2 separate regions of the Homo sapiens genome follow, and region 2 is linked to region 1. The links are contacts of gene promoters, found by promoter capture Hi-C in human tissues and cell types (Jung and others, 2019). All regions are on one chromosome and are shown on one strand. The core of a region is centred on a gene start or on the middle of the fragment in contact, and the rest is flanking DNA. Distances in the headings are between cores, read along the strand shown.

Region 1 (4,700 bases), core at 2,187-4,686:
CAAGTACGTTGGAATATCAAAATTATTGGGAGTGCAATTATCAAAAAAGCAAGCACTTCACTGACTTTCCTTACTGACTTTTTTTCATATCAACTTTTGGCTCAATAAAACCACAACTCTAGAAATTAAGTGTTATTAGTCATTTGACGCAATATTTGATACTGCTTTCTATGCATATCATAACTAAAAGTACAGTTTTAGAGAAAGTTTTAAGTCACACAAATTTCATGTGTAGAGACCAACATACGCTGAAATCAAAGAAAATGCCAGTCATGTCACAGCTCACATGTAAAAACCTGGTAAAATAATTTTAAGGTCTTAATAACCCTGATAATTTAAAATCAAGTGGGAAAAGTAAAAGTAGTGTGTTATGTACTTTAAGTGCTGAAAGAAATCTGTCTCCCAGACAGCATTCAATTATTTTCTTCAAAGGCTTTTTTTTCAAAGTTACATAAACATTTAATTTTTTGTTCCTATATATTTGGATGACTGTCAGTAATTCATGCTAATAGTAGACTGCTTTGGAAGTCACAAAAGAATTTTTCCATAATTATCTTCTGGGCAAGCGGGTCCAGTTTAGCCTTAGTAACATTCTCAATTAATGTCAACTTCAAAATTTGCAAATACTCTTTTAAAATAATATTTTTGGCTTAACAGAAAACTAAATTTTGGGAAGCTACTTCTTCAGTAAGTTTTACATTCATTTCAAAACAAAAACTTGGGCAAAATTAACTGTGCACATTTATATGCAGCTAACATAATCCAACGGAATAAAACCTCTCCCGATATAAACGCTGTCTTAAAAAAAAATATTCCCCACAATTTTTAGCAGGACATATAGACACTGTAGTGTCACTCTACCTTTAGACAAAATGCAACTGACATTTGCTAAGAAATAACTTTTATTAAAAATACTGTGCTAGTACTTATGCAATTACATAATTTTAACTAAATATTGTCCACTGCCACAATTCGCATTACCAAACTCATATTACCAAATTTTAGGCCTTGATAGAGCCTAAATGCTTCAGTCACTTCAGACCAATAACTTAATTCTGTTTTCACATACCTTATACACTGGCCTACCAATAGCTCTCAATTCCTGTCAATACTTTCCCCATTCTGCAAAAAGAGGGCCCCATCCCCATCCCTAATCAAAACCAATGTGTTGTACCTGAAACTGCAAAGATTAATGCTTTTCGATGACCACTAACTTTTGAAGCCCGAAGGCCTAACTTTTAGACAACTAAAGCTACACACTGTTAAAATTCTTGGGCTTCTGTCTTATTCAGCAAGCTGACTCAGTAAATTTAATACACTGTATGAAAAAAGCTAACATACCTACAATCTAAAGCTGGAGTAAACCCCTCTTGCCAGCATTTCTAGATATTAGCTGGTAAAATACAACTGACATTCTACACAAATCAGTAAAATTAACGATACCAAAAGGTGTCAGAGGACCTGAAACCTAAAAACGGTGAGCAGCAATTCTGGCATCACAACAATACTTAAATTTCAAGCATGAACTGAAGTTTTATTTCTGCAATCTTCACTTGCTACACACAATACCCTTGAACCTACACATTACCATCTGGGATCAGAAACTACTCAATATCCATTCTATGTTTATGACAAGAGCACTGAACATTAAATGCTACTGAAGTGCAAATTTCAAGCACTATCCTACATCACCCCATAGGGAGAGAAAAAGGTAAATATAACAAAGATCTAGTAAGAACGCCTTATAAGGTATATTATGGCACTATTGACTTCAAACTACAAAACTTCTACATACAGTTCAAAGTTGTAGGTAACTTAAGTTTAAACATTAACAAAACTACTTTTTGCCCTCAATGTGCACCATATATACTGAAAATGATTCTGCTTCTAAAGTTATGCAAATCAGTCATATTTTAAAAGAATCTATCAATGCAACTCAGGAAACTAAAACAATCACTGCAAGATTCTGATGCAATATGCGTACGTGCAACACTAATTTTCATTTTATTCTGATCTAAACCCTTGATCTAGGGCCTAAGCCAAGATTTAATCGAAATATGCTCAACCTCAAAAAGCGTCTACTTTTTTGTTCATTTAGGAGACCGGATTACCGAGCTCGCTAATCCACTAACAGTGTACTGTATTCTGTATTAACGGACAATAGCCCTCAGGAAGAGACCATATAGATAGCCTAAGAAAGCAATCGGTGGCTTGACACTTGCAACCAGGCAAGAGTTCCGTCTAGCCAAACACACCCTAGGTTGAATACACAGAAAGGAAACACAAAATATATGACCTAGCAACCTGACCAGGGTTAAATGTTATAGTCACCCAAACTACGGACATTTTCGCATCCGTCTACTCCCACGTTCTAAGAGAGTGACAGAAAGGTAAAGAGGAGCAGCCGCAGAAATGGATACAGGTCAAGTCTAAGTCGAATCCATCCTCTTGATATCTCCTTTTGTTTCTGCTAACGATCTCTTTGATGATGGCTGTCATGTCTGGGAGCCTGTGGCTGAAGAAAAAGGAGGAGAGAGATGGCAGAAGCTGCTGGTGGCGGGGCTTCTTCTGCAGGATGGAAATGGCTCTGGACTTGGCGGTAGCTGATGCCCCTCGCTCTGCCGCCGCTTGGCTCTGGACCGCAGCCGGGTAATGGCTGCTGCGGCGGCTGCTGGATGGTTGCAGCGACTGGGCCTGCTTCTCCTCAGCAGCCAGAGGCCTGGCAGCGGCGGCAGCGGAATGGGGAGAAGACGAATAATCCTCCGAACGGCTGCCTCCGCCGGCGGCCTCCGGAGCCCGGGCCACGGGGGGTGCGGCGGCGGCGCACGGGAGGTTTAAAACCGGCCCGGGTCCCTGGATGTGCCAGCCGCCGCCGCCGCCGTGTTGGAGGCAGTAGAAGGGGAGAGACCAACTCTCCGGCGTTCCCAGCCCTGGAAATGGTGACAGGCGACTCAGACCCCCTCCCTGGAGCTGCAGCCGCCGCGGCCGCCGCCGCCGCCGCTTCTCCCCCCCGCTCCAGGAGCGGGAGGTGCCGCCGCCGCCGCCGCGCCTCAGCCGGCTCCCGCCCGAGCCCACGGCTTCCACCTTCCCTTTCAGGAGAAGCCGAGGAAGAGGCTGCACGGTTAGAAAAGACGAAGAGGAGGCGAGAAACGCCGCCGCTGCCGCCGCCGCAGGCCGGCCGGCTCCCCGAGGGCGCTGCCCCCGCGGCTGCTCACAGGCGCTGAGAGGGGCTCCGGGCCGCGGCCGCCGCCGTCTCTCATCTCCCTCGCCTGAGCCCGGCCTCGCCTCACAGCGGCTCAACTCTCAAACTTCCATCATGGCTGCAGCTTCCGAGAGGAGAGAACTGAGCGCAGTCGCGTCCCAGCGCCGAGCGCGTATCCTGCCGCAGCGCATAAAGAGTCCCGCCACATCACCGCCCGCCGGCCTGCCCGCCCCCTCCGCCGCCGCGCCGGGAGCCCGGGCGCCTCGGAAGACCGAGGGGAGGCGGGAGGCGAGCGAGAGGCGGACGGGACCGCGCCGGGCGAGGGGAGGGCAGGGCAGGGCAGGGGGCGGTAGGAGGGGGCAGAGCGGTAGCTCTGGGTGCGAGCGCAGAGTCCCCAAGCCGCAGGCTCTACTGAGCATGCCCAGTGTAGCTGCCTGGGGCTTGCTCGGGCCGGTTCCCAGCCGCCAGCCTGCAGCTGCACTTGCTGCGGCTTTTGCAGCAACGCGAGGCGAGGATAACGAGCTAAGCCTCGGCCTCTGCCCAGAAACCCAGCCGGAGGCAGGGTAGGCTGTTGTGGGGCGGGGGTGGAGGACTGATGATGAAAGCTGAGATGGGTGCGTTGAGCAGTGTCACTGACTCGAGTCTGAGGTTACCTGTGCACAGGTGAAAAGGACCAGGTGACCACGCTGCTCAGTGTAGAGGGAAATGCAGGGACGGTCCCTGCAAGGGGAATACCCTCCCCCCTTGCCTCTACCCCTAGATTTCCGCGGCGTGGACTGCATTCGCTCTTTCCTTTTGCACCGCTGTCGGATCACAATCGTTCGCAGAGATTTGACTGTAACAGCCTTTGCCTAGAGATTCCCCCTTCCCCCAAATCTGTGTCCTCATGGTGTCAGTCTTAGCACAAAGAGCAACCTGCTATTGTGTCGCCAGCGTGTATCACCTCATCCGGCTCCCTTGCAGCGCCCCACCTCTCGCTTCCCCGGTAACTCGGCTCGTTTGCCCTAAAAATGAAAGCTCTCAGCCGAGCGTGCTGAACGTGAACACATAGCCGTTGAATTTCAAGGGCCCAAAGGGCACCTATCTAAATGAACTGAAAGAGGATCCCTGTGAGTGGGACGCACCCCGCAGGCCTCTCCTGCGCCCGCTCCGGTGCCCCCAAGAGAGTCGAGCATCTTTCCCCTCGGGCTCCAGGTCGGTTCGCGGCGTCGGAGTCAAGCTCGGTTCTCAGAGACCACCTAGCCCCGCCCCCCCTTGGCCGCCGTGAAAACCCGGCAGGATGGATCGCCCGGGGCCAGGCTCCGCGCGCCCCGGCCGGACCGTGCACGTTTGGGGTTACCGGGTTGAGTGGAAAGTACGGAACGGTAGGAAGCTGCAGCCCAGCGAGTGGGCGGGGCGAGGAGACCTAGGAGGGTTCAAAAGGAGGTGGAAGGATACACGGGCCACAGTCGGAACTACTTTCCGAAGGAGGTCACGTGTGTCCCTAGTTGGGGAACTT
Region 2 (4,480 bases), core at 1,167-3,666, 1.0 Mb before region 1:
AAACAAAAATTATTGGAAAAGTTTGGCTATCAATGGTGGAGAATAACTTCTAATTTCATATTTATTACTTAACTTTCTAAAAACAAGTGATTTTCCCAGGTAGGGTGAAGGTTGCCAACCATTCTCTAAATTTTCAAGTTCAGTAACTTGAATAAAATGCAGATCTCAATTTTTGCATACCATGTAAACTGCCTTTAATTTTGCCCTCGGTAGAATCATGGAAGGCAATTTTTAAAATATTGTATCTTTCAACTTCTTAAATGTTCTCAGGCTAAGCCCCTGACTAAGCTAGTGATATTATATGTGAAATAAGCCAGGCACAGAAACACAAATACTGCATGATCTCACTTACAATGTAGAAGGAATCTAAAATAGTTGAATTCACAGGGGGGCAGAGAGTAGTCTGGTAGCTATCAGAGTTCCAGCAGTTGAGGATGGGGGTGAGATGTTGGTCAAAGGATACAAAATTTCAGTTAGACAGGAGGAATAAGTTCAGGAGGTCCAGTGTATATGATGATTATACTTAATAACAATGTATTGCATAATTATGCAGCTTGGGTCTGGCACAGTAGCTCATGCCTATAATCCCAGGACTTTGGGAGGTCAAAGCAGGAGGATCACTTGCATCCAGGAGTTGGAGATCAGCCTGGGCAACATAGTAAGATCCCATCTCTACAAAAATAAAAAATTAGCTGAGCATGGTGACACATGCCTGTAGTCCCAGCTACTCGGGAGGCTGAGGTGGGAGGATCACTTGAGCCAGGGAGGTCGAGGCTGCAGTGAGCTATGATTGTGCCACTGCACTCAGCCTGTGCAACAGGGAGACCCTGTCTCAATAAAAGGTCTGTGAGGTAATAAATATGTTAATTGTCTTGACTTGGTCATTCCACAATATAAGCATATATGTATCAAAACATGTTGCATACCACAAATACATATAATTTTTATTTGTCAACTTAAATAAAATTAATAAATAATAAGCTAGCAAAAGTAATCGGCATGTGACTTTCAATTAAAAAAAAGAAGGTTCATCTTAGAAGATATAATTATTGATGACAGGACATCCTTTCAACTAGTAAGTTACCAGATTTATAGTAAGGAAAGACGAAGTCCCATTTCTGTTAACTCTTAAACTAGGATATGTCACTAACAAATATCTGTCTAATAGGAAACATGATACTCTGACATGGCTGTTTTGATGTAGCCACTTTTACTCAACATTTTGACAGCTCTTTTGTACATAGTGTTCTTAATAGCCAAATAAAATGTTTTTTAAAAAGAAATAATAAGTGCTATATGAAACTTGAATGAGTTTCCTGAACCTATCCCTGAACCTGAATCAGATCTTTCCTGTGTCTCCCAACTTGTCCCCTAGACTCAACCCACCAAATCAAATTTTTTAAATGTTGATGGCATGTTCTAGGTGCTATAAATGGAGCTGCACTGTAGTTCCTGCTCTCATAAAGCTTCCATTTCTGTCGGGGAAAATCGCATGAAAAAATAAATTATATTTAAGAAGAGTGAAACATGTATTAAATAGATTACTATGCTGGCCTTGGAAAGGAAATCTGATAACCCTGAGCCTCCTGCCCTCCCTGACCCTAAGCCTCAGAGATGGTGTTGGGATGCCTGTGAGTACATTAGTTGGTAATTTAAAAACTTGAACATTTAATGCTCCTAGAGACTGTGCAATTGGTCTGAATATGAAAACATTACTGATACCCAAACTGCCACATCAAAATAACTATGTAAATATTTTTCCAATTTTCTCACTTCAGAGGCCTTTAAAACACTTACGTTATAAATTTATTATAAAGAACAAAGGCATTTTCCAAATTTCCTTCTTCCAAATACACAGACGCCATCCTCTCCATCTCTACTCCAGACCTAAAGTAACGTCGTGGAGTGATGTCTTCACTGATGGTGATATTACAACCAAGCTTGCTTAGGGCACGGACTCGCTCTTCTGGGCTTAGGGAAACATCTGTATGGTCAGGCATAGCAGCTAACTTTTTCTGCAAAGCAAAATTTAAATCTCTGATTAACTGTTGATTATAGTAAGAAAAGGATATGACTAATATTATGGACATATGTTCTTTATGAGGAACCTAACACCATTACCTAAGGAAATCTTTTCATAAGTTAATGATATAATCAAAGTAAAGCATTTTTGCTTAAACATGCTTTATACAACAAAAATACATGGTTTATACAACAAAAAGACAAACCTCCAAGGTAAACATACAGTTTTATTGGAGTGGGATCTCACTTTAGGTTTCAGGGTATGCAAATGTTTCAGGTCATTTTAGGTAAAATATCATTGCTCCTCATATCCCTGTGCATGCTTCTATCTGGGATCATCTGAAGCAGGTCATAAGATGAATTCCTGCCATTGTAGGGTTCATGTCAGTCTACTCTGAAGGGTCTCCAAGGAGGTAACTTGGATTCAAGTTACTATAAAGATTCAATTCTATTCCAGAATAAGTGTTGTTTAGTAAGAAATTTTCAGGGCTTCTCTGCATCTTCATTGAGTTAAAAAAAAAACAACCCACAAGTAAGTCCTGGAGAAGCCTTTTCAAGCATAAGAATGCCCCTCCCATTTTTTTTAACATAAAAAGAATCTCAGACCTCCATATAATAGTAAGTACACTGTTAAATTAGTCCTTGACTAAGAAAATAATGATATGTTACTAAGAAATGTCAGTGATAGCAATTTGAATTTTATTAATAAAAACAGCATCTATACACTTTTGGTAAAGCATAGAACATATGCAATTCAGAATAATTATTCAATAAAAAGTCGGTGCTTCAGAAAGGAAATTTTCTCTGTTAAGTGCCACATAGCAAGTATCTTAGGCTCTGCTAGCCATATGGTTTCCATTGCAACTTGAATTCAGCTCTCAGCATGAAAGTCACCATAAACAATATGGATAAAAATGACCCTGGCTGTGTCCCCTAAATGTTTATTTATAAAAGCAAGTGGGTGGTTTGGCCCTTACACCATAGTTTGCTGACCCCTGCTTTAGACCAGCATGTTTCAAAGCATGGTCCATGTACTGGCAGCATCAGCATCAACTGGGAGTTTCTTACAAATGCAAATTCCTAACAGGTCTCACCTCAGACCTATAGTCAGGATCTCTGGAGTTAGGCAGGAGAATCAATGTTTTAATCCATCTTTCCAGAGGTACTTATGCCTGTACAGTTTGAGAAGCAAGGCTTTAGACCAACCCCTTCTACCATTGCTGGATGCTCCCAGAACAGAGTTAGTCTAGAGCAAATTTAGCTTCTCAAGGCCGCCTTGGTCAGTTAAGGGTAGGTTGCAAGTCTGACTACTGTGTGGGTGGAGCACTTCATTCAAGTCTGTAGAAAGCTATAAAAGAAGTCAAGGTAAGCATACTTTTAGTCTGGCCATGAATTACCGAGCCAACCTTCAGGGACAGGGTATAGTGAATTAGATATCTGGAGTTCTTCCAATGCCATCTGGTCTACTTTGGTGGTAATTTTATAGCCAATAGAACCTCAGAGATCTGAAATGATTCTTGGTCCTAAAGGTTTAATATGTAACCAGAGACCCATAAACTTGTTTCTCAAGGCTTCATTAAGTAAGAACCATACCATGTCCCTTGTACATTTTATTACGTGGCTTCCCCACATCAGAGACAGAAATTGGAGTTTCTGAACTTTGAGCCTCGGGCTTCAGTATATAGTCTTTTCAATTGAGATGTCTCAAAAGCTACAGCAATCCATCCACTTTTCCCTAACCACACTCGGCTATAGAACTCAACAGCACCAAAAGAAAATATTGTCATTTGACACAGATAATTGCTTCAATGACATCAGAAAAATGACTAGAAAAAAAATCTATGAAAATCAGAATGTTCTCTAAAGGGGGTTCCAGCCTCTCATATGTATAAAAGTAATGTATTCATATTTTACTACTACTTAGTCCACACTGAGTTATAATTATTTCTGTACAAGTGTATCTGATCCCTTATGAACTCCTTGGGGTTTTAAAAGGGATCATTTTCCATTTATCTCTGTTCCCTAGAATGTAGCATATTCCCTGCCACATAAGTGATGATTAATAGGTATATCAAATAAAAGACAGACGGAAGTGAGAGAAGGAAGCAACAAGAGATTATAATTAGTTTTTTTTCCCTGAAAATGAAAATTAGATTGATTTTTCCTCTTCTGAATGGACCTTCCCAAATTTAAAACTGATTTCAAAGATAAGCTGGAAAATAACCTAAAGTCTTCATCAATCTATAATATTTCATTTGCATGCAGACTTCTTGGATGAAAACACAAATTTTCCAGATAAAAAGCCTTTGTGTTCATTTTTACAGTGACATATACAATAAAATTTTAATTATTGTTATATAATGTTCTAGAAAAACACAGAAGACATCTCATAAGTATGACTCCTTCCTCTGGAGAGGTGGAAATGGGTCAGTCTTTATTAACCATAGTGGAACAACAA

The links. The method cuts DNA at HindIII sites, captures the fragments that hold promoters and counts their contacts. A contact is called where the count stands out against the background at its distance.
Region 2: a contact is called between a fragment that was not itself captured here and the fragment with the promoter of KLLN in region 1, in 1 of the 25 tissues and cell types used here (aorta).

Annotation. Positions count from the first base shown.
Region 1 is chr10:87,862,269-87,866,968 of GRCh38, reverse strand. It overlaps KLLN (killin, p53 regulated DNA replication inhibitor), which reads left to right and starts at 3,436. Exons shown (of 1, transcript NM_001126049.2): 1 at 3,436-4,700. The coding sequence starts at 4,482. MLDHR (mitochondrial lactate dehydrogenase regulator) reads right to left here and starts at 3,410. Exons shown (of 1, transcript NM_001433720.1): 1 at 3,315-3,410. The coding sequence starts at 3,410. The coding sequence ends at 3,315. It overlaps PTEN (phosphatase and tensin homolog), which reads right to left and starts at 3,344. Exons shown (of 9, transcript NM_000314.8): 1 at 2,421-3,344. The coding sequence starts at 2,499. RefSeq lists silencers at 3,050-3,189, 3,280-3,589 and enhancers at 4,190-4,369, 4,620-4,700. The HindIII fragment of the contact is 9,209 bases long and covers 1-4,700 here.
Region 2 is chr10:88,902,978-88,907,457 of GRCh38, reverse strand. It overlaps STAMBPL1 (STAM binding protein like 1), which reads right to left. Exons shown (of 11, transcript NM_020799.4): 3 at 1,798-2,015. Among named protein-coding and RNA genes, the nearest start is that of STAMBPL1, 25 kb to the right of the region's middle. The HindIII fragment of the contact is 3,678 bases long and covers 578-4,255 here.